Linked DNA regions of Homo sapiens: region 2 is linked to region 1. The links are contacts of gene promoters, found by promoter capture Hi-C in human tissues and cell types (Jung and others, 2019). All regions are on one chromosome and are shown on one strand. The core of a region is centred on a gene start or on the middle of the fragment in contact, and the rest is flanking DNA. Distances in the headings are between cores, read along the strand shown. Region 1 holds the start of EFNA4 (ephrin A4). Region 2 overlaps SYT11 (synaptotagmin 11).

What was found. Contacts are between HindIII fragments. The study calls those that stand out against the background at their distance.
Region 2: a contact is called between a fragment that was not itself captured here and the fragment with the promoter of EFNA4 in region 1, in 2 of the 25 tissues and cell types used here (bladder and heart right ventricle).

The regions. Positions count from the first base shown.
Region 1 is chr1:155,062,490-155,067,489 of GRCh38, forward strand. It overlaps EFNA4 (ephrin A4), which reads left to right and starts at 1,251. Exons shown (of 4, transcript NM_005227.3): 1 at 1,251-1,447; 2 at 4,241-4,527; 3 at 4,883-4,951. The coding sequence starts at 1,335. It overlaps ADAM15 (ADAM metallopeptidase domain 15), which reads left to right. Exons shown (of 23, transcript NM_207197.3): 23 at 1-286. The coding sequence ends at 13. EFNA4-EFNA3 (EFNA4-EFNA3 readthrough) reads left to right here and starts at 1,251. Exons shown (of 5, transcript NM_001407761.1): 1 at 1,251-1,447. The coding sequence starts at 1,335. DCST1-AS1 (DCST1 antisense RNA 1) reads right to left here and starts at 1,502. Exons shown (of 4, transcript NR_040773.1): 1 at 1,268-1,502. It also overlaps ADAM15-EFNA4. RefSeq lists silencers at 652-741, 1,122-1,271, 1,562-1,711 and an enhancer at 2,202-2,703. The HindIII fragment of the contact is 5,150 bases long and covers 1-3,789 here.
Region 2 is chr1:155,860,144-155,865,143 of GRCh38, forward strand. The region is part of intron 1 of SYT11 (synaptotagmin 11); the gene reads left to right. Among named protein-coding and RNA genes, the nearest start is that of SYT11, 3.1 kb to the left of the region's middle. The HindIII fragment of the contact is 3,807 bases long and covers 160-3,966 here.

The sequences.
Region 1 (5,000 bases), core at 1-2,500:
GCTCTACCTCTGACCTCTCCGGAGGTTCCGCTGCCTCCAAGCCGGACTTAGGGCTTCAAGAGGCGGGCGTGCCCTCTGGAGTCCCCTACCATGACTGAAGGCGCCAGAGACTGGCGGTGTCTTAAGACTCCGGGCACCGCCACGCGCTGTCAAGCAACACTCTGCGGACCTGCCGGCGTAGTTGCAGCGGGGGCTTGGGGAGGGGCTGGGGGTTGGACGGGATTGAGGAAGGTCCGCACAGCCTGTCTCTGCTCAGTTGCAATAAACGTGACATCTTGGGAGCGTTCCCCAGAGTTTGTCTGCTTCTAGAACCCGGGTCGCTCCTGCTGCGGTTCCAGGTTTGGCCGCCAGAAGACGCTGCCGCCTCAGACGAGGGCGGGCTGTGTGGGGCGGGAGTACCAGAAAGGGTCGGCGTGTGTCCCCGGGATGCTCGCAGCTTCCCTCTGCCCAGACTGGGGTGGCTTTCGGCGCAATCTGTCAAGCTGTTGGACCTGCCGTCCCCACTCTGACCATTGGCTGGGAAAAGTGGATCTGGCTGATGCTCCCAGAGCCCAGGAGCCAGGGCGGAGCGGGGCGGCGGCTGCTCCCACGATCCCAAGGCCGCGCACCTGCCTCCTCCCCCTCCGCCGCCGCCACCTGAGGGATCGGGAACAAAGGTGCTTTGTACAGGCCGCAACCACCTCATTACTTCGTCTTAGGGACTGGGGCCGCGTGGGCCCCCAGCCCGGAACGAAGGTGTGGAGCGGCAAGGGACAGACGCCAATCCTAAAGTGAGCATCTAGCGCGCCACCTAAGGCTCTTTAGGGAAGGTGGTCCCAGAGCTGTGTTGTCCCTTCCGCTTGCACTGTCCCTAGATGTGCAAAGAAAACGGGGCAGTGCATGAAGGTGGTTGGACAGGCTTCATGGATCCTCGCCCGCGCCTCACTTTCCCCTATCTGGGCAAAGGTTATGTACCCTTATTTAAAATCTTCCAAACTTCTAATAAGGCAGTCTACCCTGCACTAAAGCAGACACGAAAGAGATGACCTCCCTAAAAATACTGCTGTTGGAATACGTCCTTCCTTCCCGCCCCCTCGCAGTGCGGTGCAGCCTCAGTGGAAGCTTTGGCGAACCTGGCGCGCGCTGCGGTGCACAGAGGGTTAACTGGAGTTGGCGCTGGGTGGAGAGGAGGAGACGCGCTCCCATTGGCGGAAAGTTATTCAGGGGCGGGGTCAGTGAATCTCCGTACCCCACTCCCCTTTCCGCAACTTCCCTCTTCACTTTGTACCTTTCTCTCCTCGACTGTGAAGCGGGCCGGGACCTGCCAGGCCAGACCAAACCGGACCTCGGGGGCGATGCGGCTGCTGCCCCTGCTGCGGACTGTCCTCTGGGCCGCGTTCCTCGGCTCCCCTCTGCGCGGGGGCTCCAGCCTCCGCCACGTAGTCTACTGGAACTCCAGTAACCCCAGGTAGCCGGGCCGAACCGGGCGAGCGCACAGCCAAGTCTGCGCGCTCCCGGGCTTTGCGCGCGCCCGCCACCCGCTCTTTGCGCGGCGCCGCCTGAGCCTGGCCGCGCGCCGGGGCTCCTTTGTTTGAGCCGGCGGGGGAGGGGGGAGGGGCGAGGGGCGAGGCGCGCCCTGGGTCTCCCCACAGCCCGCATGTGTTGGGGGGCAGGCAGAAGACCCCAGCCCCAAGGGTTGTCTAGGGGGTCTTGGAGCATGGAGCTGGGGGGGCCTTTGCCCGCACTCCGGGCTCCGCCCCCCTCGCTGCTCTCCTGGCGATCCCCAGCCTCCCGCAGGCTGGAGCTGTGGCTGACGAACTTGAGAGCGAGGGAGGGGGCTTTACTCTTATGAAAGAGCGTGGGTTACTCTCCTGCCCGCTGGGTCTCACCTCTGGCTCTCACTCTGTCTCCTGATCTCATTTGCTATCTCTGCTTTCATCTCTGTCTTTATTGGTCCTTCTGTTTCTTTCCAGTGTCAGCCCTGCCCTTCTAGCCGAATCACCTCTGGGCAAGTCTCGTGACCTTCCTAACCTCATTTATCTCACCTGTATAATGGGCTAATAATACCTAGTACCCTGGGAAGTCTGGCAGGGTAAGTGAGGTCATGTATGTGAAAGAGGCTCAGGCTGTACAGATATAAACTATTATTTCTTTCTCTCTCCTGAGCTGCCTGCCTTTGAACCTTAGTATATTTTACTGTTTCCATCCCCCTCCCCAAGTCTCCCTGCCTCTCCTATTTCCTATCTGTTTTTCTTTCTGATTTTCTACTTGAGACAATCTGTGACTATTCATTTCTTCACTCACTAACATTTATTTATTAAACACATACTGTGTGTGCCCGGCCCTGTGCTAGGTTGCAGGGGATTAACTATATAGATGAGAAGATCAAGACCCTGCCCTCTGGGATTCCACAGACTCTCTGGAGAACAGGCGCAGGCAGGAGAGCCTGCATAAAGACAGGTCATTACAATACCAATAACAAGTGATAAGAGCTTTTGTTGTCCTTGGACTCTGAATTCTCTATCTCTGTCACAGACCAAAGCTTCTGAATCACTTGGAGGACCTGTTAAAAATTCAGGTTTCTCACCCCCCAATCTTAAGGTTTCTGGCTCATTCATTCAATCCACAAATATTTATTGAACACTGTCCTGTGCTGGGCACTTTTCCAGGCACGGGGGATGCAGTAGAACAAAACTTACCAAGGCCCTGTCCTTGCTCAGCTTGCGTTCTAGTAAGTCTGGGCTGGCTGAGCCCAGGAATCTTCATTTCTAATCAGAACTGATACAGGTCGTCCTTGGACCACCCACTGGAGGCTTTTCCTAAGTCATGCTTCGCTGTGTTTGTGGTATGGGGGGTGGTTCATGCAGCATTCAGTACTGTGGGGAGCAGCCCCTTCCAGCCCTTCCCACCTGTGCTGGCTTCCCCAGGCAGCTCCCAAGAGGTGGGGAAGGGAGTCCTGAGAAGACTGAAGACTGGGTAGTATGTGGACTCCCCCCATGCCTGGCACTTGCTCCTCCTGGCCAAAAAAGGGAGGCACCTAGCACCCACTCCCTCATTCTTTTTTTTTTTTTTTTTTTAATTTTTAGAATTTAGAGACAGGGTCTTGCTCTGTCACCCAGGCTGTAGTGCGGTGGCATAATAGCTCACTACAGGAACTTGCGGACTCTAAGGATCCTCCCGCCTCAGCCTCCCAAGTAGCTGGGACTACAGGAGTGCACCACCACTCATGGCCTTTATTTATTTATTTATTTATTTATTTATTTATTTATTTATTTATTTTTTGAGATGGAGTCTCGCTCTGTCTCCCAGGCTGGAGTGCAGTGGCGCAATCTCGGCTCACTGCAAGCTCCGCCTCCCGGGTTCACGCCATTCTCCTGCCTCAACCTCCCAAGTAGCTGGGACTACAGGTGCCCGCCACCACGCCCGGCTAGTTTTCTTTTTATATTCTTAGTAGAGACGGGGTTTCACCGTGTTAGCCAGGATGGTCTTGATCTCCTGACCTCATGATCCGCCCGCCTCAGCCTCCCAAAGTGCTGGGATTACAAGCGTGAGCCACCGCGCCCAGCCTATTTATTTATTTATGGTAGAGACAGTCTCACCATGTTGCCCAGGCTGGTCTTGAACTCCTGGCCTCAAGCGATCCTCCCACCTCGGCCTCCCAAAGTGCTGGGATTCAGATGTGAGCCACCACACCTGGCCTCCCTCATTCTTTTTTTACCGTGACATTCTTTTCACCCTTGGGTTGAAGTCAGTCTAAAGGACAGTGTTCCTCACTTTATATCTGTTTGAGGAGACCTTTCCCAACCCCTGTTTCCACCTCTGTGTCTGCAGCTGCACTGTGTGCAACTGTACCTCCTGCCTCTCTGCCCAGCTTCTTCACAGCATCCATCCACCTGACATTGATCAAGCCTGGTGCTATACCACATTGAGTGTTGGGCACTGGAGCTAGAGAGGTGTGTGGCAGCTCCAGCCTGTAGGACAGGGTGTGGTGACCCTCCTTCTCACATCTAAGCTGTGTGGTTATGGGCACTGCAGGTCTTAGCCTCTCGGAACCTGTGAATCGATCATCTCATCCATTTCTTGCACTCTCTTTGTCTCTCAAGAGTTGTCAGTCTGGGAACCTCGGGCCTTCCTGAGCTGCTCCATCGCACATGGGTGGAGGAGAGGCTGGCAGGGGCCTCTGAGAAGGGGTGTCTCTGGCATCCATGGCCATGGCGTGGTGCCCTCCACTCCTCAGCCCACCCCTGCGTTATGCCTGCAGGTTGCTTCGAGGAGACGCCGTGGTGGAGCTGGGCCTCAACGATTACCTAGACATTGTCTGCCCCCACTACGAAGGCCCAGGGCCCCCTGAGGGCCCCGAGACGTTTGCTTTGTACATGGTGGACTGGCCAGGCTATGAGTCCTGCCAGGCAGAGGGCCCCCGGGCCTACAAGCGCTGGGTGTGCTCCCTGCCCTTTGGCCATGTTCAATTCTCAGAGAAGATTCAGCGCTTCACACCCTTCTCCCTCGGCTTTGAGTTCTTACCTGGAGAGACTTACTACTACATCTGTGAGTGGCCAAGGGCACACTGGACACCTCTTGTGTACCAGAAGGGTAGGGAGGGGGAAGGAGAGGCCTGGAAGGAGGAGGGGGCTGGGTCTCTAATGTACATCGGGTTGAGGTATGGGCTGAACTCAGGACTGAGGAGGGAAATGTCTAGAAAGGAGAAAGTAGGAGGAGCTAGGAAAGGGGGCCAGGGAGATGAGAGGACTGGATGGGGCCTGATACATGGGTGTGGCCCCAAAGTAAGGAAACGCTTTCCAGGGACCTGGAGAGAAGAAAACCTGGGAGGGTCTGAAACAGTCTGAGGCATACAAAGGGGTGACTCCCTGTGCTAACTTTTTCCCACTTTCCCACTACCCAGCGGTGCCCACTCCAGAGAGTTCTGGCCAGTGCTTGAGGCTCCAGGTGTCTGTCTGCTGCAAGGAGAGGAGTAAGTGGGTTGGGAGCATGGACCCTACTGGCTAATGTGGGGCCTTGGG
Region 2 (5,000 bases), core at 813-3,312, 800 kb after region 1:
CCCTCCCCCTTGGGGCACACAGGGCGGTGCCCCTTCCTCCCCCTCCCATTCCTAAGGGCTGCGGGGGAGGGAAGTGACAAGGGGGATGGGGCATCAAGATGGCAGCTTGGAGACTGTGGGCCGTGTGGCTGGCAGCCAGGGGAGGCGGCGGCCTCTGGGGAAAGAGGGGTGCGGGGTGGGGAGCAAAAAGGAAGCCACTCCTTAAGCCGGTCAGCTGGATGCTGGGGCTAGGAGGAAACGTGAGCCCTGCAAGCTCCATTCCGCATCGTAATGGTGGGGTCCCTCCGATGCTACCAAATGGCGCTTGGCGCTGCTGGGCTGGGGGATGACGTGATGTCTATTTCTGGGCCTCCTGGCAGCGCCGACGCTCTCCTTCCGGGGCCTTTGTTCCCTGTTTCCCTGGGCCGCCTTTTCAAAAAGGGGGACTGACCAGCGTTGATGCTGGCGGGGGCGCGATCCAGGCCGGAGGGGGAGGGGCGAAAGAGGCCCAGCCCGGGGGAGGCCGCTTTGTGTACCGCAGAAAGCATTACGTCATTTCAGAGCGGCTGGTCCCCGACCCAGCCCTGTGGGCTCCAAGATTAGTTTTACACTCTCTGGAGCAGAAAGTGGAGTGGAAAATAGGGAAGAAGGTGGCAAAGACAAGCTTGAGAAGGAAGTTTTTTCCTCTTTGGGGACTCCTGCAGTATATGCTAAAGGAGCAAACTTCCTGTGTTATGCTTTCCTGATCAAATAAATAAAATATAATTGCCCTGCTTCTCCTTGATTCAGTTTAGATGGGGGAAGCCAGTGAGAGTTGCTGCCAAAGAACCTTCTTATTCCTTCAGGGATTCTATCCCTCAGACAATCCAGTAGGTTTGAGCATCGGGACTCCAGTTTTTAGGGTGGAGACACAATCCAGCTAGGAAATGGCTTTTCTCATTCCTGAATAAGAGGTACAGTGAAATGAGCAGAATCCAGTGTGCTCTATCCCCTCAGAATAAGGAAGAAGAAATCAAATCAGATGTGTTCAGATAACTGATCTTCACACTCATTAACTACTTGTTCTCACTTATTCCACAAGGCTAAATCTTGATGGTATTTTTTCTTCCACTTCACCTTCCGCATCTTTATTCTTTGAGTTCTAAGTTTCCAAAACAAAAGTCCCTTTCATGATCACATGAGCAATCCATGATTTCTTCCTGTTCTTTTTCTTCTTATTCCCTTCCAACAGATTCCTTTCTCTAACTGCAGTTCCAGAATCCTTGAAAAAAGGAGATGGTGTGGAACATAATATAGTGATTTCTCTTAGAGGGACTATTATTGGGAAAGGGAAAATAAATTATATCAGCCTGTTACATACTACATTTTATTTAATCCTAACAAATACCCTCGAGTGTATGTATTATTATATATACTTGCCAGACAAGGAAACCAAAGCTCAGAAATAAAATAACTTGGCTAAAGCCAAACAAATGACTAAAGGTAGCACTAGTTTGTTTTTGTTTTTGTTTTTGAGACGGAGTTTCGATCTTGTTGCCCAGGTTGGAGTGCAATGGCGTGATCTTGGCCCACCACAACCTCTGCCTCCTGGGTTCAAGCGATTATCCTGCCTCAGCCTCCCAAGTAGCTGGGATTACAGACAAGTGCCACCACACCCAGCTAATTTTGTATTTTTAGTAGAGATGGGGTTTCTCCATGTTGGTCAGGCTGGTCTTGAACTCCCGACCTCAGGTGATCTGCCTACCTTGGCCTCCCAAAGTCCTGGGATTACAGGTGTGAGCCACTGCACCTGGCCAATGCTAGGATTTAAACCAATGTCTGGCTGAAGCCAAAATTTATTCTCATTCCATTGTATTATATTTGTCTACTTGACTGCGAAAAGCTATGTTTAGGAAAGGGGGTGTCAATAAAAGCAGTTCTGGTCAGAAGCTGAAGGAGCTGGCCAATAGCCCAGATGTGTCTTGCAGGTCTTTAAACCATTACAGAGGATCTCCTACATAGAGAACTACCACTTCCAACTTTTTCACATCTCATAGAGTACTTCATTTCAAATGCCACAGCACTTGGGTGATACACCAAGCCAACACTCAATTATCCATGACCATGAAGGACAAAAGGAGCGAGAAGCACAGGTCACTGCAATTTATAGCTACTTTAAAACACTCACTTCAGCCATTAGTTTCAACTTCCATTTCCCACCAAGCTTTGGACTAAAGCAAGACAGAGAGCTCTAGGTTTTAATATCTTTGATGATTCTAGCTCATTGTCTTGGTTTCAGGGAGAGAGGCAAGAGTTAACAAATACTAAAATGAAGAAAGAACAGCAAAAATAGGAAACAAGGCCAGGGGGAACAACTAGATAATTCAAAGATGCGTTCATCTGTTTCTCTTCTTTTCCTTCTCTATCCTCCTGGAATATGAGAATTCTTCATCTTCTCTCTTTTCTACCCTATCTCCATTTTCTAACAATAAAAGTTGATGCATTGTAAATATGTAAGCAGCAGTGGGTTGCCCCCCGCTCCTCCACCGCACTGCTGCAGGGAATAAATCTATGATAGAGCCAAAAGAATTGCCCAGGTGTCTCCTAATCTAAGCCTTCAGATCTCTCTTTATGATCATTCCAAAAAATATGCCTGTCTTGGTAGTTTGCTGTGTTCCTCTTCTCATAGAGACAGTGTTCAGTTTCACTAATGAGTAGCAAACAATTTGCAGGAAAGCACCTGATTGATGAATGGAGAGCCACTTCCTTAGGCTGTGCCCATTCTTAATGGCAACTGAATCCAATTAGTTGTTCAACCAAATATTTACTGAACTCCTATTAGAAGCAAGAGACTCTTGAGGGATTCAAAGATCCATAGGATATTGTTCCTGCCTGCCTTCAAGTAGCTTACTACCAAGGCTGTCTCCATTTTGTGAAAACTTTCCCTAAAAGCTATTTCATTTAATACTTTGAGACTAAACACTATTATTATTCGGTATGGATATAGACATGGTCACCTTGATTTATTTTGTTAATAATGTTTTGCTCCTTATCTATATTATTTTAAAATGTACCCGGGTACAGTGGGTCGTGCTTATAATTCCAGCGACTCAAGAGACTGAGGCAAGAGGATCTTGAGGCCAGGAATTCAAAACCAGACTGGGCAACATAGCACCTTGTCTCTAAAAAAAATTTTTTTTAATTAGCCAGGCATAGTGGCATGGTCCTGTAGTCCCAGCTATTCAGGAGTCTAGGGTAGTAAGATTGCTTGAGCCCAGGAGTTCAAGGCTGCAGTGAGCTGTGATTGCACCACTGCACTCCAGCCTGGGCCACAGAGTGAGACCACGTCTCTAAAAAAATAATAACAATAAATATATATTTTAAATAAAATGTAACTCTTCCTTGGTTAGGCATGGTGGCTTGCACCTGTAATCCCAGCAATTTGGTGGAGACTAAAGCAGAATTGCTTGAGCCCAGGAGTTCAAGACCACCTGGGCAATATAGTGAAGACTCATCTCTAAAAAAAATTTAAAAATTAGCTGGGCATGGTGGCTCATGCCTGTAATCCTAGCACTTTGGGGGGCCAAGGCTGGCAGATCACTTGAGGTCAGGAGTTCGAGACCAGCGTGGCCAATATGGTGAAACCCCGTCTCTACTAAAAATACAAAAACTGGCCAGGTGTAGTGGCATGTGCTGGTAATCCCAGCTACTCAGGAAGCTGAGGCAGGAGAATCACTTGAACCAGGGAGGCAGAGGTTGCAGTGAGCCGAGATCGCGCCATTGCACTCAAGTCTGGGCAAAGCAAGACTCCATCTCAAAAAAAAAAAAAATTAACCAGGCATGATGGCACATGCCTGTAGTCCTAGTTCCTCAGGAGGCTGAGGCAAGAAGATCATTTGAACTGGGGAGGTCAAAGCTTCAGTAAGCTGCGATCATGCATGCCACTGCACTCCAGCCTGAGTGACATGGTGAAATTCCATCTCTGCAAAAAATACGAAAATTAGCCAGGTGTGATGGCATGTGCCTGTAGTCCCAGCTACTCAGGAGGCTGAGGCAGGAGGATCACTTGAGCCCAGGTGGTGGAGGTTGCAGTGGGCCAAGCTTGTGCCACTGCACTCCAGCCTAGGCAATAAAATGAGACGCTGTCTCAAAAGAAATAAAAAAAGTAAGCTCTACCACAATGCCTGGCAGGGACATATAAATTTACACAAAAAATAGCAATTTTATTATTGTCACTGCTATACACAATATTACATGTATATTATGACCAGTGCAGATGAAATTATACCTGCCTCTCATGTAATCTGGACATTATGCTCATAGTATTGTGCTCATGATGCTCATAGGCTTTCTAGAGAAGATAAACCCTTCATCTAGGTTTGGAGGGAAGAAAAAGCCATGGATTGGTTGGAGAGGATAGGAGAGGATACCTCTAATAGAAGGGAAAACAGTAGGCATTATACTAATTATAGTCCAAGATTGTGGTTGCCTAAATTCCTAAGTCATTTTTGACTCATCAAGTGAGGTTATTGACTATAAATAGGTTTTTGAGTCCAAATAGAAATTTACATTTATCCCTGATATATGTAATCATCTTGACTCAATCCTTTTTTTTTTTTTTTTTTTTGAGATGGAGTCTCACTCTGTCACCCAGAATGGAGTGCAGTAGCACAATCTCAGCTCACTGCAGCCTCCGCCTCCGAGGTTCAAGCTATTCTCCTGCCTCAGCCTCCCAGGTAGCTGGGATTACAGGCACCTGCCACCATGCCAGGCTAAGTTTTGAATTTTTAGTAGAGACAGGGTTTCACCATGTTGGCCAGGCTGGTCTCGAACTCCTGACCTCAGGTGATCTGCCTACCTCAGCCTCCCAAAGTGCTGGGATTACAGGCATGAGCCACCGCACCAGGCCTCAATCCTCTCTTTCTAATCTGTGGAGGCTGTTTTGAATTCACTGACTCTTTTGTTCACTGAACGCTTACTACATGCCGCATAGTTCTAGGACGTGGAACTATAGCAGTGAACAAAACAGACAAAGTTGCTGT